4 separate regions of the Homo sapiens genome follow, and regions 1, 2 and 4 are each linked to region 3. Evidence: promoter capture Hi-C in 16 types of primary human blood cells and fetal thymus (Javierre and others, 2016). All regions are on one chromosome and are shown on one strand. The core of a region is centred on a gene start or on the middle of the fragment in contact, and the rest is flanking DNA. Distances in the headings are between cores, read along the strand shown. Region 1 overlaps MDS2 (myelodysplastic syndrome 2 translocation associated). Region 2 has its middle 5.3 kb from the start of MDS2. Region 3 holds the start of ASAP3 (ArfGAP with SH3 domain, ankyrin repeat and PH domain 3). Region 4 has its middle 17 kb from the start of RPL11.

Region 1 (6,928 bases), core at 1,175-3,674, 160 kb after region 3:
GTTCTTGCACTTGACAAACACATATTAAAGGAAAGAACGAATCGATGAAGCATGGGTTTGGGTGCCGGGCTGGGGAAACCAGGTTTGTGAGTGAGGGGATGAGGTGACAGGACCCAAGCAGGGCTGGCATGGGTGGCAGCGGAGAACCACAAGACCACGTGTGGTCACCTATGTGATGATGCCTCCTGGAGTTGTTCAGAGCAGTGCACAGCCTGTGGTAGGGGGCTGGCTTCCCTTAAACGCTGTTTGGGGAAGTACAGCCTGACAGTAGGTTTTCAGGAACTGGGAGGACCAGAAGGTGCCCTGATTCCCTTCCTCCCTGATCTCCCCTGGCACCAGCTCCTTGCTCAGCCTCCTCGCTTCTCTAATTTCTTGCAGCTGCAGTGTTCTGAATAGCAGTCCAGCTATGAGGGGAGGTGCCCGTGGCAGGCCTCAGCTGACCCTGGAGAGGCCATTAAGACCTGGCTGTCGCCTCCACAGCTGCTCGGAGGCAGGTGAGTCTGGTTCTCTGAGTCTCCCTCCTAGAGGTGGGCACTGAAGTCAGGCCCAGCGGATGGGAAGGAAAGAGGCCAGGGCTGGAGAAGCAGCCAGCGTTTCCCACTTCCTCCCCAACTGCCACTCCAGGTGGTGGCCCAGGTGACTGGGTCTCTTTGTCCTCCTCCCTCCCAGACACACTCTTGCCCTGGGTTTTCAGGAAAGTGGGGAGGCTAAGCAGCTCATCCCAGGCAGTTGGGCAAACCATCCCACCAGGTACCTGGCCAGATGCTGTCCCAGACACCTCCCTCCAGGCTGTCATCCTCCACATCACTGGGACTAGTAGTAAGGGAAATAGAAAGCTCCCCAACGCCCTCCACCTGCACCCCAGGCCTGATCCTGAGGCATGGCTGGCTCAGAGACAGTGACAGTGGGGTCAAAGGGTATGAGACAGATTCTCCATCTACCAGGAACAGGCAAGTGAGCCTCAGCCTCCTCGTCTGGAATGAGGGACAATAGTACCTATTTCACAGTAAAGTTTCTGGAACATAGGTGTTCAATAAATGACAGACGCTACCATCACAGATTACCAATGTTACAAAACTGTAAACAGAGAAAGGTGGCTTTGTAAGAAGAAAAGAGATCATTCTTTTTCCACCATGTGAGGACCCAGCAAGAGGGTGGCTGTCTGCAAACCCAGGGAGAGAGCCCTCACCAGGAATCTGCTGGCACCTTAATCTTGGACTTCCCAGCCTCCACAACTGTGAGGAATAAATGTATGTTGTTTAAGCCACCCAGTTTGTGGTATTTTGTTATAGCAGTCCTAGCTGACTAAAAAATACTGTCTCCTATAACCCATGAGTTTTGTTTCAAAGCACTTAACACAATCTATAGTTATACATCTACCTATGCAATTTATCTTTTTAAATTTTATTTTGTTTTATTATTTTTGGGGGATGGAGTCTCACTCAGTCACCCAGGCTGGAGTGCAGTGGCATGATCTCGGCTCACTGCAACTTTCGCCTCCTGAGTTCAAGCAATTCTCCTGTCTCAGCCTCTGAGTAGCTGGGATTATAGGTGTGTACCACCACGCCTGGCTAATTTTTGTATTTTTATTAGAGACGGGGTTTCACCATGTTGGCCAGGTTGCTCTCAAACTCCTAACCTCAAGTGATCCAGCTGCCTTGGCCTCCCAAAGTCCTGGGATTACAGGCATGAGCCACCGCACCTGGCCTGTGCAATTTATCTTTTTAAGTTTTTCCTGAAGTATAACAAACACAAAAACACACAAATCCTGTGTACAGCTCAATATACCTTCACAAAATGAACCCATCTGCATAACCTGCCTCTAGGTCAAGAAGTGAACATAACCAGCTCCCCAGAAGCCTCCTTGTGACGCCTCCTCATCGCTACCTCTCCCTGGAGGTAGCTATCATATAATTATTCATTTAGTTATCAATGTGGGTGTCATGTGTGTCCTCTATGGATTATTTTCTTAGGGCTGCTGTAACAAATTACTACAGCCTTGGTAGCTGAAAGCAACAGAAACTTATTCTCATGGTTCTTCCAGAAGTCTGAAATCAAGGTGGGCTGGGCGCGGTGGCTTATACCTATAATCCCAGCACTTTGGGAGGCTGAGGTGGGAGGATTGCTTGAGCCCAGGAGTTTGAGACCAGCCTGGGCAACATGGTGAAACACCATCTCTACGAAAAAATACAAAAAATAGCCAGCCTGTAGTCCCAACTACTTGGGGGGCTGAGGCAGGAGGATTGCTTGAGTCCGGGAGGTGGAGGTTGCAATGCGCTGAGATCACGCCACTGTACTCCAGCCTGGGTGATGGAGGGTCTAAGGGAAGATCCATTCCATGCCTTTCTCCTAACTTTTGGTGGCTGCTGGCAAAATCCTTGGCATTTTGTGGAGTGCCCCTGCCCTCCAGTCTCTGCTTCTGTCTTCACAAGGCCTTTTCGTCTGTGTCTCTGTGCACTCTTCTGTCTCTTATCAAGACACTCTCATTGGATTTCAGGCCCACCCTAATCCAGCATGATTTTATTTTGATACTTATCTTAATTACACCTGCAAAGACCCTGTTTTCTTTTTCTTTTTTTTTCTTTTCTTTTTTTTTTTTTTGAGATGGAGTCTCACTCTGTCGCCCAGGCTGGAGTGCAGTGGCACTATCTCGGCTCACTGCAAGCTCTGCCTCCCGGGTTCAGGCCATTCTCCTGCCTCAGCCTCCCAAGTAGCTGGGACTACAGGCGCCCGCCACCACGCCTGGCTAATTTTTTTGTATTTTTAGTAGAGACGGGGTTTCACCGTGTTGGCCAGGATGGTCTCGATCTCCTGACCTCGTGATCCACCCACCTCGGCCTCCCAAAGTGCTGGGATTACAGGCGTGAGCCACCACGTCCGGCCAACCCTGTTTTCAAGTAAGGTCATATTCTGAAGTTCTAGGTGGACATGCATTTTTGGGAGACACGCTTTCACCCACCGTACCCTACAAGATTGCAAGCCCCAGGAGGACAAGTGGTGTCACTCATCTTTGGATCCCCAGAACGAGCCTAGCCTCAGAACCTAGCCTGGCAGATAGGAGCTGCTCACAAAATGTGGGCTGAATAGATGAATTATCAGTACATCTTCACATCAGGAGAACCAATGCTGTGTACCTGACACATGGTGGGTAGTGAGTAATTGATTGACAAGTGAATGACATTTAGACATCAATTGAGAGTGACTGCAGAGTATAGAAATAATGATAGGATGGCTGGGCGTGATGGCCATGCCTGTAATCCCAGGACTTTGGGAGGCTAAGGCAGGTGGATCACTTGAGGTCAGGAGTTCAAGACCAGCCTGGCCAACATGGTGAAGCCCTATCTCTACTAAAAATACAAAAATTAGCCAGGCATGGTGGCACATGCCTGTAATCCCAGCTACTTGGGAGGCTGATGCAGGAGAATCACTTGAACCTGCGAGGCAGAGGTTGCAGTGAGCCGAGATCATGCCATTGCACTCCAGCCTGTGCAATGAGCAAAACTCTGTCTAATAAATAAATAAATAATGATAAGATGGCCAGGCACGGTGGCTCATGCCTGTAATCCCAGCACTTTGAGAGGCCGAGGCAGGTGGATCACTTGAGGTCAGGAGTTCAAGACCAGCCTGGCCAACATGGTGAAACCTCATCTCTATTAAAAACACAGAAATTAGCCTGATGTCATGGCAGGTGCCTGTTTCCAGCTACTTAGGAGGCTGAGGCAAGAGAATGTCTTGAACCTGGGAAGCTGAGGTTGCAGTGAGCAGAGATCATGCCACTGCACTCCAGTGTGGGTGACAGAGCAAGACTATCTCAAAAAAAAAAAAAAAAGGCCGGGCGTGGTGGCTTATGCCTGTAATCCCAGCACTTTGGGAGGCCAAGGCTGGCAGATCACCTGAGGTCAGGAGTTCGAGATCAGCCTGGGCAACATGGTGGAACCCCGTCTCTACAAAAAACACAAAAAATTAGCTGGGCGTGGTGGCACGTACCTGTAGTCCCAGCTACTCAGGAGTCTGAGACATGAGAATTACTTGAACCGGGGAGGCGGAGGTTGCAGTGAGCCGAGATCATGCCACTGCACTCTAGCCTGGGCAACAGAGTGAGACTCCATCTCAAAAAAATAAAAATAAAAATAAAAAAATAAAAAGAAATAATGAAGGTGCTGCTCACTGAGCACTTACTTTGGCCCCCCTGTATTCTCTGCATGGTTCTATTTAATCCCATTTTACAGAAAAGTAGGGGATCATGTGTCCCAGTTTGGATGGGACAGATCCAGTTGGCACCTATTGTCCCAGCATAGGGAGTATTTTATTCCCACTTTCCCATTCTAGTCTTAGAAGCGTACTGAGCTGGTCAATAAAGTACATGGTCACCCCATAGATAAGGCAATGGAGCCTTAAAAATTCCTAAAGGCAATAAATTCAGCACCTGATTTGCTTTCTTCTCAGAGACTCTAAAGCCTTTGCCCTTAACTGCTAGTGGTGCTGAGGGTGTTAATTAGGAGGGTTGTTGTTTTTTTGTCCTTGTTTTAGTTTTGGCAGCAATAAGGCTGGTATCAAGTAACCATCTCAAGAGAGAGAGGTCGTAGGGAGGCCAGCTCCCTCCCTGCTCCAGTCTGGTGATCTGTGGAGGAGGAGAGAGGTTCACAGACCCCCATCCACGCAGAATGGCTCAAGAATTTGCAGGTCCCAGTGCAAAATCAAAATGCAGAGCCTCTTGTTAAACAGTTAAAAAACTGTTAATAATTCAAGACAGCAACAGCAGAGCATTAAACAAACGCTGGGCCCTTTGGTGTGTGGGACCATGCAGGTCACATGCCCATGAAACTGTCCCTGCATCCCCCTCTTACCCAAGCTGGGACTCTGGCAGTCATCCTTGACCTCTCCCCCTCTCTAAGCCCTCTTTTCACATTGAGTCCCGCGGATCCAAGCTTATTGAGCAGCTCCCCCACTCCCTTCCAAATGCCATGCCTCTGGTCCAGTGACACTTCTCACCGCTAGACTAGAGCAACCACTCAGACAGCTTCCAGTCCTGCCTGCTCTGGCCCATCCTCCCCTCTGCGGCCAGAAAGAGCTCCCCAAAGGCCAATCTTACCCTAGGACCTCCCTGCTTAAAACCTTCCATGGCCCCTGCTGTGGACTGAATTGTGTCCTCCCCAGAATCACATGTTGCAGCTTTAAGTCCCATTGCAACTGTGTTTGGAAAAGGGGCCTTTAGGAAGTAATTAAGGTTAAATGAGGTCATAAGAGTGGGACCCTGATCCCTTGGGATTCATGCCTTATAAGAGGAGACACTGCAGAGCTCACTCTCCTCTTCCCCACTGTGAGCACACACACAAAGAAAAGGCCATGTGAGGACACAGCAAGAAGGCAGCTGTCTACAAGCCAGGAAGAGAGCCCTCACCAGAAACTGAATCTGCTGGCACCTTGATCTTGGACTTCTGGCCTCCAGAACAGTGAGGCATCAATGTCTGTTATTTAGCTACGAAGTCTGTGGTATTTTGTTATGGCATCCCGAGCACACAAAGGCAGCTCCCCGCCGTCTGAGATCTGGGCATGATCTCCGTGGCTGTGTGTTAGGGACCCCACCTCTCCAGCCCTTGCCAGACCTTCTTTCCTGTCTCTGGGTGTTCTACAAGATCTCCTTCCTCTGGATCTTCCAACATATTCTTCCTCTACCCCTTTCTTACCTATTTATCTGGTCAACTCCTGCTTGGCTCTCAGTCCCCAGCTTAGAAATGAAGCCTCCCTGACCTCCCCACCCATGCACAGTCCATGGAGGGCTCCTCCTCCCTGCCCCCACAGCTCCTCCATGCTCCCTCCCTTGTGGGGAATTCTACTACACGTTTTGGGCCTCTCTTGCCCAATAGTTCAGGAGCTCCCTGAGAACCGGGACCTTATTCTGCTCAACCCTTGGTCCTGAGCATCTACAGGTCTGGAGGCCTCTCACCCCTCCCTGGTGTTCTTGACCTTTAAGAAGGATGCCAGGGGCTGACTGTGAGTTCCAAAGCCCCTCTGGGAAGCTGGGGGCTGAGGAACAGAGTTGGAGGCCAGACTGTGGGTAGAGGAGCAGGGCTGAGGGTGCAGGAAGAGACTTCAACGGCCTCTGTGGGTTCACTTTTCATCCACCTCCTTCCCAGGGAGAACCTGCAACTGGCTCTGCTTGGAATGCGTCATTCATTTATTTAGTCAACAAACATTCATTGTGCTTCCAATTAGGGTCAGGCCCTGGGCCAGGTACTAGGATGCTGCAGGGGAGGTTCCTGGGTCCCCACCAGGAGACACATGACATAAGCTATGACTTTGTGTTGAATGAGGGACTTCCCCCAGAGTAATGGGAAAGAGGACTTGGAGGTCAGATAAGCCTAGTGCGACTCCAGGCTCTGCTCTTCATTAGCTGGTAACATGGGACAATCCAAGCATGTGCCCTACTTTTTTAAATCTTGAAAATGGCTCTGACAGCAGAGCCTCTGGAGGCCTGGGGTGGGATGAGATCCTGGAACATGACCCCAGTTCCAGGCCTCTGCTTTCTCCCATTCAACTTGATATGCCTCATGCACGTCTTCCTCACAGTCACCTATTCCCCACATCATGGCCATGGTCAGGCTCATGTCCATGTGTGGGGTGTACTTGACCATGAGGAAGACATAGCAACAACCTACAGTAGCGACCTTCAGCCAACACCCCTGGTGAGACCTGTCCAGAGACTCAGGCAAAGAACCCCCATGTGACACATTCCTCCCAAACCAAGGTACCACATTCTGCAGAGGCCACCTCAGCCTCTCTCTTCCCTGGGTTCAAGTTTCTACTCTGACTGGGGTTCTTAGAGCTGCCTGACCTGGAGAGAAATCCCAGTGGATGAAACCTGTTATCAAGAAGGAGGAAATTCCCCTTTAAGTGGTCCCATTCAGGCAGGCGTCACTTGGGCAAC
Region 2 (6,271 bases), core at 3,323-5,822, 140 kb after region 3:
TTTACCAGGTGTTTCTGAGTTTCTCATTGGTCTTTATATGTCTGTGGGTTTCAGGGAAGTTGTTGTCAACCCCATTTTACAGATGGAAAGCTTGGTTCAGAGAGTTAGGGATGGAGCCAATCCCCAGTCTTGGGCAAGCCCCTGACCCTGAAAATCCTTTTGTGATCCAAGCCCCCCATTTCCTAAACGTGTGCTGAGAACCAGGGAAAACCGGGGTATCCAAGTAAGAAGAGGGAATGCAGATTCTGGCCTGGGCTAACAGCAACAGTAATAATGACCCCACGGCAGCCACTGCCCTTGTCCTGCTCTGCGTTCCATCCACGTCACGAGCATCATCTGCTTATGAGGAAGGGTTACTCATTCCCATGTTACAGATAAGGAAACCGAGGCCCAGCAAAGCTAAGAGACTTGCCTTTCTTGGCCAGTTTCCTTCCGATGCCTTGGTGATCGCTACAGCCCTTTACAGTTTGTAACTTTAGCACCCCTTTCCTGATCTCTCCAGTCTAGCACTGGTAGGTGGACGTGCTCCCATTTGACAGAAGCAGCAACTGAGGTTCAGAAGTCAAGGGTGGAGCTGGGAGACGGCTCTCAGCCTTCCGATCATGGGAGCGCGCCCAGAGCCTGGTGGCGCAGCTCTGGCGGGGAGGCGGGGAGCAAGCGATAGGGCCGCGAGTGGGAGTCCGCGTCTCCTCCCCGCCAGCCGCCGCCGCCGCCGCCGCCGCCACAGCAGAGCCTGGCTTCCCCGCAGCAAGCGCGGCAGGTGCGCAGCCGGTGGCGGCGTCGGCGCGGCGGGTGCGCCCGCGTGGGCGTGGGCGAGGGACCTGGGCGGGCGGGGCCCCACGCCCATCCTCCCTCCCCCCTGCCCTCTCTCCCGTGGCTGGCGGCAGGTGAGTGGGTGTCGAGGAACCGCCAGGCAGCGGAGAAAACAGGACGCCGCAGAAATCAGATTACTCACCTGCAGCTGCTACTACCCAGGGCTAATAAAAGCAGAGCTTCCTGTTGTTTCTTTATTACCGCCCTCTGCCTCCCTCCGCCCCAATCCGCTCCCAGCTGCAGCCAGAGCCCTAACTGATCGCCAGAAACCGGTTGCTTGGGGTCCAGACCAATCCAGTGCCTGAAATACCCTCTGTGCCGCACAGGGTTGGGTTAATGCTTCCTCAAGGGTGGACTTCGGTCACCTGCATGGGAACCACCTGGGGTGCTGGTTAACAACACACATCTCCAAATACGGCTTCACACCTGCTCGATCAATTCCTGCAGTTTGGGGCCCAAGAGCAGAATTCATAGGAATCTCAGGTGATTTGTAGGCAGGCTGAAGTTTGAGAACCACCGAGTCTGGATGTTGTAGGTTCAGATGATGTGGGTTTCCTGTTCTCAAATGCGACCCACAAGTTAGGGATGAAACCTATCCCCAGTCTTGGGCACGTGGGGCAGAGCCTCAGTCTGCTTATTTGTAAAATGGGGGTGAAAATAATACAGACCTCTCAGGACTGACTGAAACAAGGCTCAAATGGAGAATACACTTATCGTGATTCCTAGCGATTGCTCCTGGAGTGTATAGACCAACCAGGACTAGGCACGGAGTACCATCCATGGAGTGTGAGGGGCAGGATGAAGAAGCAGGCAGAATGGACCTCGGCTGGGAAGGGGCCATGATTCACCCTGGGTGCACTGAGAAAGACTTTTCACCGTTGAGCTTCTCCAGAGTCCAGTCCCCCTCACACCAGGAAAATGTTCCTGCCCAGGGCATGGACAACCCTGATGGCTAGATCCAGTGACCTCTTCTCAGCCCTTCTGTGACACCTGACTCTGGAGTGGACCTCACCTTTCTCCTCCAAGCTGTCACCTCCCTCAACTTCAGGGCAAGTTTGGATCCCCTTCTTCGTCTTCCTCCTATCTAGCTAGCAGCTCCCTTGCAGGCCCCCGCAGCCCTTCCTCCTCCTGCCTCCGCAGTCATGGGCACCTCGGCCTACTGCGCAGCCTCTACATCCTCCCAGGACAACTCACCCACTCCCAGTTACCTTCTTTAAGCTGAGCTCTGCCCTTCCTGAGTCCCTGATTCATAAACACAGCACCTCCTAGACATCTCTGCTTGGCAACTCCCCTGCATCCAACTCAACTTGACCAGCTCCAAACTCATCATCTCACTCTCCCCTGCCACCTGCCTCTTCTGGTTTCTCTGTCTCAGGGCAACACACCTGGATATTGTCCCAGGTGAGGTCTGCTCCTCAGCTCCTCATCCAGCTTTCCAATCCAATCCATTTTATCTCCCCAGTTTTGCTCCAGAATCTGTCCCCTTCTTCCTAGTCTTCCTGTCCCTCTGCACCCCAGGTCCCCTAGTTCAGGACTCCATAATCTCTCACCTGGATGATTCTAACAGCCTTTTTTTTTTTTTTTTTTGAGACCGAGTCTCACTCTGTCGCCCAGGCTGGAGTGCAGTGGCGCGATCTTGGCTCACTGCAAGCTCCGCCTCCTGGGTTCACGCCATTCTCCTGCCTCAGTGACATTTACTGAGCTCTTACCCAATGCTCAGTACCATGTCAAGCCAGTCAATCTTTGTAGCTTTAGCTCAGCCTCATACCATTTACATGATTATTATTCCTGACTTACAGATGAAAAAACTGAGGAAGAGGGAGGTTAGGTAGCTTGCCCAAGGTCACAAAGCTAGTAAGTAGCAGAGTTGGGATTTGTACCCAGGTCTCTCTGGATCCAAAGCTGGTACTGTTAGCTGTTCTAATCTTGAGCCACCTTGTCCCAGTTGCATAGTCTTCTCCTTTTTTGTATCTTCCCTGGCATCTCAGAGGATGCCTGGCATATGGCAGATGTTTGTTGAATGAATAAACAAATCTGTCTGCACTCCCATTTAATTCTTCTTTTTTTTGACAGAGTTTCGCTCTTGTCGCCCAGGTTGGAGTGCAGTGGCATGATCTCAGCTCACTGCAACCTCTGCTTCCTGGGTTCAAGCAATTCTCCTGCCTCAGCCTCTGAAGTAGCTAGGATTATAGGCATGAGCCACTACACCCAGCTAATTTTTGTATTTTTAGTAGGGCCTAGGTTTCACCATGTTGGCCAGGCTGGTCTCGAACTCCTGACCTCAGGTGATCCACCCACCTTGGCCTCCCAAAGTGCTGGGATAACAGGCATGAGCCTCCGTACCCGGCCCCATTTAATTTTTACAACAACCCTAGGAACTACATTTTTTTAAAAAAAACAAAACTTACTATGTAATATTTGATGATTACAAAAAATGTGTGTTGAATATCTGGCATATGAAGACAAACACCTGTGAACCCATGGCCCCAGCTTAGGAACTAGGCCTTCACCAGCACCACTGAGGCCACCTGTGTGTGCCTCCCCAGTCCTATTCCCTGCCTTCCTCCAGAAGTAAACACTATCCTGAATTTTGTGGTTATCATTCCATGCCCTTGCTTTGAAAAAAAAAATAATTTTACCAAATGGGGAGGATCCTGTGCAACACATTATTACGTTTGTTTTTTGATCTTTATATAAACAGCACAATGCATGTGCATTCTTCTTTGGCTTGATTTTTTCATGCATCACTATGTTTCTAAAATACGTACATGATTTTGCACTTTTGGCTGGCCTTCATTCCTTTTTCCTGCTGTCTAGTACTCCGTTGTCAAATAGAATTCAGTGACTTTATCCATTCTCCAGTTGATGAGCACATGGATTGTTTCCAGTTTTTCGCTATCACCAATAAGGCTGCCATGATCATTCTTACACCTATGTCTTGGTGCACACATGTAGGAGTTCCTCTAAGCTACCTACCTCAGACTGTAATTGTGGGTCATTGGGTATGCACATAATTAGCTTTACAAGATGCTGCCAAGTGATTTTCTGAAGTGCTTGTATTGACTAACATTCTTCCTTTCCTCTGCCACAGTGGATGAGAATTCCAGTACCTCCACATCATCCCCAACAGAGTATGATCAGATTCCTTCACTGTTCCTCACACGGTCTCCATTTGCACCTCTCTAATAAGATGAAACATCTTTTTTTTTTTTTTTTTTTTTTGAGGCGGAGTTTCACTCTTGTTGCTCAGGCTGGAGTGCAGTGGTGCGATCTCAGCTGACTGCAACCTCTGCCTCCCGGGTTCAAGCAATTCTCCTGCCTCAGCCTCCCGAGTAGCTGGGATTACAGGTGCCTGTCACCATGCCTGGCTCATTTTTTTTGTATTTTTATTTTTATTTTGAGACAGAGTCTCACTGCCTCCCAGGCTGGAGTGCAGTGGCGTGATCTCGACTCACTGCAAGCTCCACCTCCCGGGTTCACGCCATTCTCCTGCCTCAGCCTCCCGAGTAGCTGGGACTACAGGCGCCCGCCACCATGCCCGGCTAATTTTTTGTATTTTTAGTAGAGACGGGGTTTCACCGTGTTAGCCAGAATGGTCTCGATCTCCTGACCTCGTGATCTGCCTGCCTCAGCCTTCCCAAAGTGCTGGGATTACAGGCGTGAGCCACTGCACCCGGCCTTTTTTTGGATTTTTAGTAGTGATGAGGTTTCACCATATTGGCCAGGCTGGTCTTGAACTCCTGACCTCAGGTGATCTGCCTGCTTCATGCTGGGATCACAGGTGTGAGCCACCGTGCCCGGCCGAAACATCTTTTCATATGTTTATTTTGCATTCTGGTTTCTTTTTCTGTAAATTGGCTGTCCGGTCCTTTTGCCCACTTTTCTATTAGGTTGTTTAGCCTTTGCTTATTGGTTGGAGGCATTCTTGGAGAAGTTTTTTTTTTGTTTTTATTTTTTAGTAGAATTAGAATCTGGGACCCAAGTTCATGGAGGACAGAGCCAGCCTCAAACCTACATATGTCTGATTCCAGGGCCCTTAGTATCCACCCCTTTGTTTCTCATTCATTCATTTCTTTCTTTCTTTCCCTCTTTTTTTTTTGAGATGGAGTCTCACTCTGTCACCCAGGCTGGAGTACAGTAGTGTAATCTTGGCTCACTGCAACCTCTCCCTCCCAGGTTCAAATGATTCTCCTGCCTCAGCCTCCCGAGTAGCGGAGACTACAGGCACATGCCACCACACCCAGATAATTTTTGTATATTTTTTAGTAGAGTCAGGGTTTCACCATGTTAGCCAGGCTGGTTTTGAACTCCTGACCTCAAGGGCTTTGCCTGCCTCAGCCTCCCAAAGTGCTGGGATTACAGGTGTGAGCCACTGCACCTGGCTCATTTATTCATTTCTCAAATGTCTACTGATGACTTTCTCAGTAAACACTGGAGAGGGAGTAGATGGTTGTGGTTAAGAGCATAGATTCAGGACCCCCCTGACTAGATTTTCATCTCTGCCTCTCACTAGCTGTGACCTCGGGTAAATTTCTAACCTATCTGTGCCTTAGTTTCCTTTCTATAAAGTAAGGATGATAATAAAGTCCTCTCTTACAGGGTTGATATGTGAGGACTGATGAACGAGTTAATTCATATAAAGGGCTTTGGAGGTGGGGTGGTGCAGTCAGTGCTGAATAAATAAATAGTACATGCCAGGCACTGGGCCTGCAGCACACCATTCTGGGGACACAGGAATGAAAAGACAGACAATGACACTGACATCATGCAGCTCACTGTCCAACAGAAAGAGACAAACACAAAACAAGTAAATAAATAAAATAACGTGGTTGTGACAAAGGCAAGGAAGAAAACCACAAGGTGACGAGACAGAGGGTGACGAGACAGAGACCAGGCACTGACTCAGCTGAGGGGTCATGCAGGGAAAGCCCCCTGTAGGAGTTGACATTTAGGCCAAGGCATGGAGGAGGAGAAAGAGCCACCCAGGCAAAGAGCAGAAGAAGGTGGCCCAGAAGAGAAAAGGGCAGGTGCAAAGGCCCTGAGGCAGGAAGAGCTTGACATTTCAAGAACTGCAAGGAGAGCAGTGTGGCCATGGCTTTGGCTGTGGCTGTAGCCAAGTGAACACGGAGATGACAGCAGGAAGAAGGTGGGGAAGCACCAGGGCAAAGGGGCTGGAATTTTTTTTTTTTTTGAGACGGAGTCTAGCTCTGTCGCCCAGGCTGAAATGCAATGGTGCCATCTCTACTCAATGCAAGCTCCGCCTCCCAGGTACACACCATTCTCCTGCCTCAGCCTCCCGAGTAGCTGGGACTACAGGCGCCTGCCACCATGCCTGGCTAATTTTTTTTTTTTTTTGTATTTTTAGTAGAGATGGAGTTTCACCGTGTTAACCAGGATGGTCTCAATCTCCTGACCTCGTGATCCGCCCACCTCGGCCTCCCAAAGTGCTGGGATTACA
Region 3 (6,323 bases), core at 3,528-6,027:
ACCTCTAATTCTTTAAAGCCAATTTCCCTCAATATTCTTCTCTGACGATCAAAAAACAAACAAACAAATTTCCCTCCAACAGAAACAAGCTTGACAGGGTTTATGTTTCTTGCAAACAATCTCTAAGATTACACAATTTTTACACTAAAATACATTTTACAAAGCAAACTGTAAAATTCACAAGAATATTAAAAATTAAGAAGGAAATCCTTTCTAAAACAAGATTCAAAAAAGCAAAAGTCACAAAGGAAAAGAAAAATGTAACTCCAAAACAATTTAAACTGTGCATTATAAGACCTGATACCAATTTAGGTAAACATTCCCCCAGCCACTCCCATTCCCCCACTGATAATATATTTTCCATGAGGAGATACATTGGGAAGCATGTACATTTCCATAGCAATTACCTCTGGGGAGAATACAGGGATTGAGATAGTTGTTCATAGGCCTTTTCTGTTATGTTTTAAATTACTTATTACAAATTATGCCCTGGCCGAGCATAGTGGCTCACGCCTGTAATCCTAACATTTTTGGAGGCTGAGGTGGGCAGATCACTTGAGCCCAGGAGTTCAAGACCAGCCGGGCAACATAGTGAAACCCCAACCCTACAAAAAATACAAAAATTAAGCCGGCGCCAGTAATCCTAGCTACTCAGGAGGCTGAGGTGGGAAAATCACCTGAGCCCAGGAGGTTGAGGCTGTGGTGAGCCATGATTGTGCCACTGTACTCTAGCCTGGGTGACAGAGTGAGACCCTGTCTCAAAAAATAAAATAATAATAAATTATGCCACTTGTCCAATTAAAACTTTCTTTTAAAATTTCAAAAATATATACAAAACAAGCCTTTGAAGATCTCCTATTTGTGGCAGACTGCTTCATCTGAGACCTACTGGAGGGGGTGTGTCCACTAGCAGTTTGAGGCACACAATATAGTATGAATTCTTAGCTCTGGTCAAAATGGCTTACTTGGTTCCCAATATGCTCTCTTCCCACCAGTCTCTGAATTCACTCCCTTGTCCTCTCCGATAAATGGGGTTCATCTATCCTTCCACCTGGAAGTGTCACCTCCTCCAGGAACTTCTCCCTCATTGCACCAGTCCTTACTGCTCTCTCCCTCTCCTGCTCCACTTGCCTCTTATGGCATTGACTGTACCTTTCTCTGGGGACTCAGGACAAACTCCTGGGGTTCTTACTGATCTCCCTGTAACAGGCTACTTCTCCCTAGTCAGTCAGCAAATCAAAGTAGCATCTTTATGTCCTTAGTGTCCTTTATGTCCATAGAGATGGCACAGAGAGCTGGACAGAGCCCAGGCAGAGCACAGCAGAGTCAGAGAGACCCACTGTGTGACACAGGGCAGCTGCCTCCACTGCCCTAGGCCCGGTTTCACCTGTTGTTGTGAATATCAATGAGATGATGGGCATAAAGGGGCCCAAGACAGGAAGAGGCTGGTTGACGTAATGACTATCTTAATATACTCCCTCACATTTGCATGGTGCTTCATAATTGAACACAAAAAACTTTAACAACCCAGTAAGGTAAGCAGGGAGTGATTAAGAGATCCATTTTAAGGATAAAATAACAAGGTTCAGAGAAGTTACGTAGGGAGGACAGACAGATGGACTTTAAAAGGAAAGAGAACAGGACCGGGGGTAGAACACGTGGGTAGAAATGCTAACTTTCCCACTATCCAGCCGCAGGAGCTTGGCCAAGTCTCTTGGCCTCTCTGGACATCAGTTACTCCATCTTATCTGAGAGAGTTTCTAGCTGGTCTCTATCTTAAAAGGGTCCCTCAGCCCTGACATTCTAGTTTCCTGTGATCTGCCCAGGGTCCTTCCCAGCAGGACTGTACAAAAGGGCTGCGAGTCCCAGGACAGGGTCCCTAGTTACTCCCAGGAAACCAGTCAGAACTGGAAGACTTGACTTAAGAATCAGTTGCATTTTGATTCAGTCAAATAGAGCTACAAGCCTGGGGGTGGGTTAGTCAAGCCCAGAACTGGGGGAAAAAATTGCAGCATCAAACTATATGTAAACACAATATAATCGCAAAATATAAATGCAAATGCAAAACCAAACAGGAAACCTCAGGGAAGTCTAATCCAAAGTTCAGACTCTAACTTTTTGGGCCCTGAGATGCTGAAGAGAAAAGCTGTGTTTGGGTGCCGCAAGCCTTTCTGTTGTAACAATGAACCTCTACGTGCACCAAACCAAAAATCTGAAGGCAAAGGAGGATGGGTTTTGTCTTGCCTGAACTGGGGCAAAGCTGAGCCCTGAACAGAGCCTGCTGTGGCCTCCAGACCCATTCTAAGGGTCCCTCCCCCAACACACAGTGCTTACACTTACACAGCCAGGCAAGGCCAGATGTATGGGCATAAATGGGCATTTCTGTCCATGGATAAGGTTCATATTGGAGCCCCTTCTCCTGCTCTAAGATTCTAATGAACAACCTGGGGAGGAGGATGAACCATGAAATCCCTAAGAATGTGGATGGCACTGAGCTATTCTGGGTCATGAAATGTGAGGCTATGAAGACAAATCTCAGGAAGCTCTCCAAAGGATGGGCTGGACAGCAGTGTTTCCCTGTGAGCCCCACAGTAAAATATAACCCACATCCACAGGCAGTGGACTCTGCCCAAGGAAGGAAGCCAAATCTGACCGGCTGCTTCTTATTTTAATAAAACATGTACCCCTACTATGTGCAAAGTAGTAGGCTAGGCTCCGTGAGACAAATGAGACAAGGTGAGGCTCTGTGAGACAAATGAAGACAAAAGAGACCCAATCACTGTCTAAAGAGATCTGCCGATTAATCTGACGATAATCATTCCATTTATCAAGAGGCATGGGCCAGTGCAGCGGCTCACACCTATAATCCTAGTACTTTGAGAGGCCAAGGCGGATAGACTGCCTGAGCTCAGGAGTTCAAGAACAGCCTGACCAACATGGTGAAACCCTGTCTCTACTAAAAATACAAATATTAGCCGGGTGTGGTGGAGCATGCCTGTAATTCCAGCTGCTTGGGAGGCTGAGGAATGAGAATTGCTTGAACCCGGGAGGCAGAGATTGCAGTCAGCTGAGATCGCACCACTGTACTCCAGCCTGGGAGACAGAGCAAGACTCTGTCTCCAAAAAAAAGATGCATGCTTTATATGCATTGTCTCATGTGAGGTACACATTATTACCCCCATTCCACAGATGACAGGACAGGTCACATGCCCACGTTCACCCAAATGGCAAACTGCAGAGCCAGCGTTTGAAAAAAGGTCTGCCTTGGCCGGCGCGGTGGCTCACGCCTGTAATCCCAGCACTTTGGGAGGCCGAGACGGGCGGATCATGAGGTCAGGAGATCGAGACCATCCTGGCTAACACGGTGAAACCCCGTCTCTACTAAAAATACAAAAAAAAAATTAGCCAGGCGTAGTGGCGGGAGCCTGTAGTCCCAGCTACTCGGGAGGCTGAGGCAGGAGAATGGTGTGAACCTGGGAGGCGGAGTTTGCATTGAGCCAAGATCGCGTCACTGCACTCCAGCCTGGGCGACACAGCGAGACTCCGTCTCAAAAAAAAAAAAGGAAAGAAAAAAGGTCTGCCTTCCCCAAAGTCGATGCTCCTTCCACAATCCTCTATCACCCTTACAAAGTGATACAAACAGACTCCGAGATGGAGGGTCACCCTGACAAGAGAGAAGAGGACAGATTTCCTGACACTGGCGCAGGGTGTTATGAACTACTGAGCTTTGTATCTGCCACGCAGTGGGTGCCTAGTACACTTAAGGTGAAGGGTGGAAGGCTAGAGCCGTTGCTGAGGTCCAAAATGCCACCCAAATTGAGGGCATCCTTTGGATGGGGAGCTGCAAAAACACATTATTCTCCGTTGGACCAAGGCCACGGGGTGTCTGTCCTAGAATATTCTTTGCAGAGGAGCTGCGGAAAGCTGCAGCAGGTTCAGAGAAGAGGAATGGAAGGAACTCCGAAGAGCATGGGAATGGGGTGGGGCAGCCTGCAAGACCGAAAGAAAAGGCCTGGGACGCTTTGCTGGGAAAGACAAAGAGGAGAGGGGAGGGGAGAGGAGACGATAAACTTGCCAACAGCCCGGCCAAGGTGAACCCCGGCTCCTGGCGCCTTCCCATCCGCATTCATTCCACAAACGCGGGCCAAATCTCCGAACCAGCCGCAAGCGGGAGGGGGCCTCTCTGCAGCCGGGGGGAAGAAAGTTCAGGACTGAGGCGGGAAGCCTGCCTCTCAGAAGGGGAGTGACTCGGGGGGCACACTTGTGGGGCTCCGAAGATGAAAACGCAAACTGAGGCTGGAAGGCGCTAGGCAAACACATATGTGATGAGGCGGTCACGCGGGGCACTTGGGGTACGTCCCCCGACCTGTGGAGTTTGTCATCGAAGAGACCTCGAGGCCCCCCAAAACGGTCCCTCGGGCCTTCCCCCGCCTCGACGGTGAGGACGCAGCTGTTGGAGATGCGCTCGGTCCTCCCAGACCTAGGGAGGGGGCAGGTTTCGGGGCGCGGTGAAGGGCCATCGCAGCTCGGGTGCGACACGCCTGTGGAGGTCAAGGCCAGGCCCGGCGCCGACCCCCGACCCCTCCCGCCTCGGCCCCCTCACCTCCTCCCGCGCCAGCGCCGCCCCTCGGTACCGGGGCATCTTGGCGGCGAAGGCGGCGGCCCCAGCCGGGGAGCTGAGGTCCTCCGCGGTGACGGCCAGGAACTCGGCGACGCTGAACTGCTCCGGCATGGCGGGCGCGAGCGTGGAGCTGCCGGAGCGGGGCGCGGGGGGCACTGAGCTGCTCCGCGCTGAGCCGGCCTCACCGCCGGCCGGGGGCGCCGTCCCGGCCTCCACACGCCCCGCCCCTCCGCACGCCCCGCCCCCGACCCTCCAGCCGCTCTCCGCTCCTCAGCTGGGACGGCCCCGCCCCCGGCTCCTCGCCTTCCTCCACCGCCAAGGTCCAGGCTCCGGCCCCGGTCCCGGCCCCGCACCGCGTCAGGCCGCTTCCCCGGCCCCTCGCCGGCCCCCTAGGCCACGCCCCCAGCCCCTCACCGCCTCAGACCCCGCCCCCTGGCGCGATGCCCCACCCCTGGCCTCAGTAGAAACTCCTCCGCCTTCCCCCATCCCTGCCCCTTCAGGGCTCTGTCCCGTTTCATCCCGCTCTGGGTCTTCCAAATCCTCCTCCCTTGCACGGCCCAGGCTGTTCCATCTCCGCGTCGAGTCTTAGAGCCCCCTCCCTCTTCCTCCCTCCTCTGCTGATTCGTTCCGAGTTCCCCATGACCTCGCCCCTTCTGCCCTACCACCCCCCCGCCACCCTTCCCTCCTCTCTCCCCAGTCCCGCCCAATCTCCTTGCCTCGCTCCGCCCCGAATCGCCCCACCCCTCCTTTGCTGCGTACGCCCAGCTCTCAGCCTCAGCTTTGCAGGCATCCGGAGACTCCCTCCTGATAACCCCCGCCGCCCCGGGGATGTGTGGATCGGGGCCCCTGGCTAGCTGTGTGACTTGGGGAAAATTACTTCTCTTCTGGAACCTCAGTTTCCTTATCTGTACAATGGGAAGCCTGATGCCCGCTTGATTGTGATGTTGCGAAGAACCGAACACGTGCGTGTACTAGTTCCCTCTTACCCGACCATAGATCGCACCCACGCCTTTACTCTTCCTGCTCCTGCCTTTCACCCCTTAATCTGGCTCACCATCCTTTGGGGCGGATGAGGGATGGGGTTCAGGATAGAAATCCACTTAGGTTTAGTTCTGAAGCCTGAGGTCCTCTGGGGAAAAGTTCTCCAAGTAAAAAGCTAGGAAAGCACCGCAGCAAGGAACATTGGTTTTGGAGTCAGAGGAACCTAGATTCCAATCTTGGTTACTTTGGATAAATTGCTTGCTTCTCTAAGCCTGCATTTCCCCCTCTTAAAATGGCCTCATGGTATTTTACCCCACAGGGCGGCGATTGAGAGAATCTTTTCTTTTCTCGCACAGAAAAGAAAAGAAAAGAAAAAATCCGGAAAGATATGCACTAAAATGTTGCACCAGCAACATTTTATGCACTAGCTGAAGACAGATATGCACTAGCTGAAGACATTATGAGTAACTTTCTTTTCTTTTGGTGAATCTGTATATCCTAACTTTTATACAATGACCATATACTACTGTGTAATAGAATTAAAAGTTGACGGGAGCGATGGCTCATGCCTGTAATCTTAGCACTTTGGGAAGCCGAGGTGAGCGGATTGTTCAGGAGTTCAAGGCCAACCTGAGCAACATGGCGAAACCTTGTCTCTACAAAATATACAAAAATTAGCCCGGCGTGGTGGCTCTTGCCTGTAGTCCCAGCTACTTGGTGG
Region 4 (6,514 bases), core at 600-3,099, 220 kb after region 3:
TAGGAAATACAATTATTTACCTGATACTTTGTTTAAAAGTTATAAAAGAACTCTGTTACTACTGAATTTGCAGGTTTGACATGTTTATTGTATTACTTTCTAGTATACTAAAATAAAGATGTAACTGTTTAAAAAATGTGACTGGCTGGGTGTTGTGGCTCATTTGGAAGGATTGCATGAAGCCAGAAGTTTGAGACCAGCCTGGGCAACATAGCAAGACCCCCCATTGCTACATATTTTTTTATCTAAATTAGCCGGCTGGGTGAGGTGGCTCACGCCTGTAATCCCAGCACTTTGGAAGGCTGAGGCAGGTGGGTCACCTGAGGTCAGGAGTTTGAGACCAGCCTGACAAATATGGTGAAACCCCGCCTCTAATGAAAATACAAAAATTAGCGGGGTGTTGGCAGGTGCCCGTAATCCCAGCTGCTTGGGAGGCTGAGACAGGAGAATCGCTTGAACCCGGGAGGCAGAGGTTGCAGTGAGCCGAGATTGTGCCATTGCACTCCAGCCTGGGTAACAGAGTGAGATTCCATTTCAAACAAACAAAAATTAAAAATAGGCCGGGCGTGGTGGCTCACGCCTGTAATCCCAGCACTTTGGGAGGCCGAGGCAGGCAGATCACAAGGTCAAGAGATCAAGACCAACCTGGCGAACATGGTGAAACCCCATCTCTACTAAAAATACAAAAAAATTAGCTAGGCGTGGTGGGCGCCTGTAGTCCCAGCTACTCAGGAGGCTGGGGCAGGAGAATAACTTGAACCCGGGAGGCAGAGGTTGCAGTGAGCCAAGATTGCGCCACTGCACTCCAGCCTGGGTGACAGAGTGAGACTCTGTCTCAAAAAATTAAAAATAAAAATAAAAATTAGCCAGGTGTAGTGGTGCATGTCTTTGGTCCCAGCTACTTGGGAGGCTGAGGCAGGAGGATTGCTTGATCTCAGGAGTTGAAGGCTGCAGTGAGCTGTGATCACACCACTGCACTTCATCCTGGGTAAGAGTGGGACACCTGTGTCTTAAAAAAAATAAAATAAAAAGGCCAGGCACGGTGGCTCACGCCTGTAATCCCAGCACTTTGGGAGGCTGAGGCAGGTGGACTGCTTGAGCTCAGGAGACCAGCTTGGGCAACATCAGTGAAACCCTGTTTCTACCACAAAAATTAGCCAGGCAGAGGCCGGGCATGGTGGCTCATGCCTGTAATCTCAGCACTTTGGGAGGCCGAGACGGGAGGATCATCTGAGGTCGGGAGTTCGAGACCAGCCTGACCAACATGGAGAAACTCCATCTCTACTAAAAAAAAATACAAAATTAGCCGAGCGTGGTGGCACATGCCTGTAATCCCAGCTACTAGGGAGGCTGAGGCAGGAGAATCGCTTGAACCCGGGAGGCGGAGGTTGCGGTGAGCTGAGATTGCGCCATTGCACTCCAGCCTGGGCAACAAGAGCGAAAACTCCATCTCAAAAAAAAAAAAAATTAGCCAGGCATGGTGGCGGGTACCTATAGTCCCAACTACTGCAGGAGAATTGCTTGAACCTGGGAGGCAGAGGTTGCAGTGAGCCAAGATCACACCACTGCACTCCAGCCTGGGAGACAGAGCAAGCAAGCCTTTGTCTCAAAAAAAAAAGAGAAAAAACAAAAAGAAAAATTTTTTAAAAGTGTGTCCACGGCCGGGCGCGCTGGCTCATGCCTGTAATCCCAGCACTTTGGGAGGCCGAGGCGGGCAGATCACCAGATCAGGAGATCGAGACCACCCTGGCTAACACGGTGAAACCCCGTCTGTACTAAAAATACAAAAAAAAATTAGCCGGGCGTGGCGGCGGGCGCCTGTAGTCCCAGCTACTCGGGAGGCTGAGGCAGGAGAATGGTGTGAACCTGGGAGGCGGAGCTTGCAGTGAGCCGAGATCGCACCACTGCACTCCAGCCTGGGTGACAGCGCGAGACTCCATCTCAAAAACAAAACAAAAGTGTGTCCACTAAAGTCACTTATCCAGTAACTTTTTTTTGAGCGTCTACCATGTGCTGGGCACTGTTTAAGGGGCATAGGATACATCAGTGAACAAAGACAAAGATCCCTGCCTTGGAGCTTACATTCTAATGGAGGGAGACAGACAATAAGCAATCCACGAGTAAATTACAGAGAATGTTATAGGATGGTATGTGTGTTGGGAAAAGAAAAAGTAGAGTGGGGTGAGGGGGTGAGGAAAGGCTGGTCAGAGGAGGCCTCACTGAGAAGATGAGATTTGAAGTGGGTAAGGGTTGGGCACTTGGATCTGTGAGGAGGAGCTTTTGGAGAGATGGAAGACTAGAGCAAAGGCCTTCAGGCAGAGGTGCGTTATAGCACTGAGCCCACTACAGCCAGGCAGTGTGAGAGGGCAAGAGGAGGAGGGGGTCAGAGATGATGGGCAGCCGCTGTGCAGGCTGTGTAGGGTGTTAGAAAGACTATGGCCTTTACTGGGAGCGAAATGAATCACTCCTTGCTAGGTTGGCAGAGGCATCACATGATCTGACTTCCATTTTAAAACTGTAACTGCATATTAAAAACAGAATATGGGGGGTAAGGGTGGAAGCAGGAAGACTTATCAGAAAGTATTGTCAGCTCAGTGCTCTTGTGCAACTGTAGTCCTATCTGCTTGGGAGGCTGAGGCAGGAAGATGGCTTGAGCCCGGGAGGTTGAGGCCAGGCATTCATGCTGGTCCAGACGTCGTGGCAGCATTGGAGGTGGTGAGACATGGGCAGATGATAGATACATCTTGAAGGTAAACCAGCAAGATTTCCATGGACAACTGGATGAAAGATAAGAGAGAAAGTGAAGTTGAGAATGACTCAAGTTTCTGGCCCCTAGCAAAAGAAGTATGGAGTTGCTGTTAATTTCGATGGAGAAGGTAGCATGGAACAGATTTGACAGTTAGGAATTCCATTTTGAACATGCGTAACTTAAAATCTATCATCTAAAGGAAGATGTTGAGTAGGCATTCTGGAGGCTGGTCTGCAGATATCTGTTTGGAGGTCTTCAGCATAGGGAGGTCCGTATTTACAGTCTTGAGACTGGATGAAGTCATAGGGGAGTGAGTATGACAGAAAGGGAAAAGGACCCAGGACTGAACCTTAGGGTACTTAAGCATTAAGAGGCCTGAGAGGCGGCCGGGCACAGTGTCTCACACCTGTAATCCCAGCACTTTGGGAGGCCAAAGTGCGAGGATTGCTTGAGGCCAGGCATTCGAGACCAGCCTGGGCAACATAGCAAAGCCTCATAGTGAGTCTCTATTAAAATTGTTTTAAAAAAACTAGCCAGGCATGGTGGTGCATACCTGTAGTCCTAGCCACTTGGGAGGCCAAGACAGGAGGATTGCTTGAGTCCAGCAGTACAACACTGCACTGAGCTGAAATCACACCACTGGACTCCAGCCTCAGCAAAAGAACAAGACCCTGTCTTGGCCGGGCGCAGTGGCTCACGCCTGTAATCCCAGCACTTTGGGAGGCTGAGGCGGGCAGATCACAAGGTCAGGAGATCAAGACCATCCTGGCTAACACGGTGAAACCCTGTCTCTACTAAAAATACAAAAAATTAGCCGGGCGTGGTAGCGGGCATCTGTAGTCCCAGCTACTCGGGAGGCTGACGCAGGAGAATGGCGTGAACCCGGGAGGCAGAGCTTGCAGTGAGCCGAGATCGCACCACTGCACTCCAGCCTGGGCGACAGAGCGAGACTCCGTCTCAAAAAAAAAAAAAGAAAAAAAAGAACAAGACCCTGTCTCAACTCAAAAAATAAGAATAATAATAGTAATAAAAAGAGTTGTGAGGAAACAAGAGGAATTGGCAAAGGAGAAAGAGGGACCGGTAAAGTAGGAGATAAACCAAGTGCCTGGTAACCTGGAAGTAAAGTCAGGGTGTGTGAAGGAGGAGGGATGATGAACTGAGGTGAGTGCTCCCAAAGAGTCCGGTAAAACGAGGACTTTGAATTAGGCATTGGACTTCACAGCATGAAGGCCTCTCGTGGCCTCTCTGGAGCAGTGCTGCCAGGGTGATGGGCCAGAAAGCCTGAGTATAGTGGGCTTCAGAGAGAAGGTGAGGAGAGTGACTGGGGACAACTGGTAGACAATGCTTCCAAGGAGTTCTGCTGTCAAGGGGAACAAAAGTGGGAAAAAAACTTTCTATGACTGAGAAAATCCAGTAGAGAGAAAAATTGATGTGGGAGAAGGGAGACCTGCAGTAGCAATATCCTTGAGTGGGTGAGAAGGGTTGGCTTGTAGCACACAGAGGGGGTTTAGACTTGGATAGAAGCGTGGCTGGGGTGTTGGTGATAAGTTGGGAGCCTGCCTGTGTGAGTGCACATGTTGGCTGGTGGTAGATACGGGATGGAGTTCTGTGGATGTGCCCGGCCGCCTCTCAGGCCTCTTAATGCTGAAGTACCCTAAGATTCAGTCCTGGGTTCAGTTCTCTTCAGTTCTCTTCGCATTGCTTTCATTTTCTCAGTGAAGTAGAAATAAAGGTAGGGATGAGTCACTGGGAGAGTCCTGCGCCATGTGTGGGGAACTCTACCTGAGGGCAGGACCCTCAATGCAGCCTCTATGGGTAAAGAAATAGGTTTGAGAGGTAAAGAGCCATGCGCAGGATCACACAGCTGGTTAGTAGCAGAGCCAAGCCTAACCCAGATGGCCTGGTTTCCTGCCTAGCATCTGACAGATCCATAAGAGACAAATCATTTCACCATCTTGACAAGGTTGAACTCTCATGGCTCTTCCTAGTAGTGTCTCAATCTGCAGGTCTGTTCTGATACAGAGATGTCCTGCAAGCAGCTCTTTCCTCTCTGTCTGTGCTTTCTGGGTTCTGCCTTGCCTGCCTTCCAGCTGCTCTGCATCTTTGTCCTACAAGATCAGTGATGCTCAAATTTGAGAGTACATTAGAATCTCCTGTACGGCTTGTAAAAGCTGGATTGTTGGGCCCCCACCCTCAGAATCTCTGATTCAGTAAATCTGGGGTGTCTGAGAATCTGCATTTCTAGCAAGTTCCCAGGTGATGCTGAGGCTGATCCCGGAACCAAGCTTTGAGAACCACTGTGTTAGACTATAAATATCCCTCTTGGATTCAGGTTCATGAAGGAACTGTGTTAGATTATATACATCCCTCTTGGATTCAGGCTCATGAAGGAACTGTGTTAGACTATATACCTCTCTCTTGGATTCAGGTTCATAAAGGAACTGTGTTAGACTATATACATCCCTCTTGGATTCAGGTTCATCCCTCTTGGATTCAGGTTCGTGAAGGAACTGTGTTAGATTATATACATCCCTCTTGGATTCAGGTTCGTGAAGGAACTGTGTTAGAGTATATACATCTCTCTTGGATTCAGGTTCGTGAAGGAACTGTGTTAGACTATATACATCTCTCTTGGATTCAGGTTCGTGAAGGAACTGTGTTAGACTATATACATCCCTCCTGGATTCAGGTTCGTGAAGGAACTGTGTTAGACTATATACATCCCTCCTGGATTCAGGTTCGTGAAGGAACTGTGTTAGACTGTATACATCTCTCTTGGATTCAGGTTCGTGAAGGAACTGTGTTAGACTGTATACATCCCTCTTGGATTCAGGTTCGTGAAGGAACTGTGTTAGACTGTATACATCCCTCTTGGATTCAGGTTCGTGAAGGAACTGTGTTAGACTGTATACATCCCTCTTGGATTCAGGTTCGTGAAGGAACTGTGTTAGACTATATACATCCTCTTGGATTCAGGTTCGTGAAGGAACTGTGTTAGATTATATACATCCCTCTTGGATTCAGGTTCGTGAAGGAACTGTGTTAGACTATAAACATCTCTCTTGGATTCAGGTTCATGAACTCGGAAGGCATCTATCTGTCCTCTGTCAAGCCTTAGGAGTGCCTCCCATTGATTCTGTTCTAAGAATGTTTGCTGAACTCATTCATTTGGCAAATTTTTATTGTGTGCCTGGCTGTGTGTTGGGATCTGGGGGATACAGCACAGAGAACCCATTCAGCTGTTAAGTGGTATAGCAGAGATTGAACCCAGGCAGTCTGGCTCCAGAGGCCATGCTGTTAATCACCACCTTAATACACCAGCACCATACTGACCCTTCCTCATTGTCGTCAGAGAGATTGAAAGAGAACTGGAAAGAGAATGACTTTCTCACTTTGTGATTCATTGTTAATTAATATGGTATCCATGTGCCATCTAAAATCATTTGGGCTGCCAGTAGTGCCACCCCACACTGTAGGATACAGCAGGTTAGAACACAGGGTGACATATGGTGTGGCAGGAGTTTGCTTAGGTAGTTCTGTGAGCACTGTGTGAAGGAGTGGTGGGGCGGGAGGTGGTGGGGGGAGCGGATTACAAAAAACCCGTTTGATTTAAATCTATTATCATGACAAACCAGGCAAAGAAAAGAGTTTGGAGAAAAGTCATCTCAGGCAAGGCAATAGGGATCACCAAGTTATGGAAGCAAGAAGGATATTAGGTATTTGGTATGCCTGGAGTTGAGAGAGTGTTGGGGGCCTGACAGGAAA

Evidence for each region. Contacts are between HindIII fragments. The CHiCAGO score rates a contact against its expected background, and 5 or more counts as called.
Region 1: a contact is called between a fragment that was not itself captured here and the fragment with the promoter of ASAP3 in region 3, in 14 of 17 cell types (non-activated CD4 T cells, neutrophils, naive CD4 T cells and 11 more). The highest score is 15.2, in non-activated CD4 T cells.
Region 2: a fragment that was not itself captured here is called in contact with the fragment with the promoter of ASAP3 in region 3 in 1 of 17 cell types (neutrophils); the score reaches 7.0 in neutrophils.
Region 4: a contact is called between a fragment that was not itself captured here and the fragment with the promoter of ASAP3 in region 3, in 1 of 17 cell types (fetal thymus). The highest score is 6.0, in fetal thymus.

Annotation. Positions count from the first base shown.
Region 1 is chr1:23,639,302-23,646,229 of GRCh38, forward strand. It overlaps MDS2 (myelodysplastic syndrome 2 translocation associated), which reads left to right. Exons shown (of 6, transcript NR_167910.1): 5 at 379-494; 6 at 1,027-1,267. Among named protein-coding and RNA genes, the nearest start is that of MDS2, 15 kb to the left of the region's middle. The HindIII fragment of the contact is 5,004 bases long and covers 1-4,926 here.
Region 2 is chr1:23,618,870-23,625,140 of GRCh38, forward strand. No RefSeq gene overlaps it. Among named protein-coding and RNA genes, the nearest start is that of MDS2, 5.3 kb to the right of the region's middle. RefSeq lists enhancers at 143-643, 644-1,144 and a silencer at 650-919. The HindIII fragment of the contact is 8,968 bases long and covers 89-6,271 here.
Region 3 is chr1:23,479,402-23,485,724 of GRCh38, forward strand. It overlaps ASAP3 (ArfGAP with SH3 domain, ankyrin repeat and PH domain 3), which reads right to left and starts at 4,778. Exons shown (of 25, transcript NM_017707.4): 1 at 4,604-4,778. The coding sequence starts at 4,732. RefSeq lists silencers at 4,613-5,062, 5,183-5,292, 5,303-5,352 and an enhancer at 5,543-5,642. The HindIII fragment of the contact is 9,206 bases long and covers 88-6,323 here.
Region 4 is chr1:23,705,485-23,711,998 of GRCh38, forward strand. No RefSeq gene overlaps it. Among named protein-coding and RNA genes, the nearest start is that of RPL11, 17 kb to the left of the region's middle. The HindIII fragment of the contact is 6,366 bases long and covers 1-5,032 here.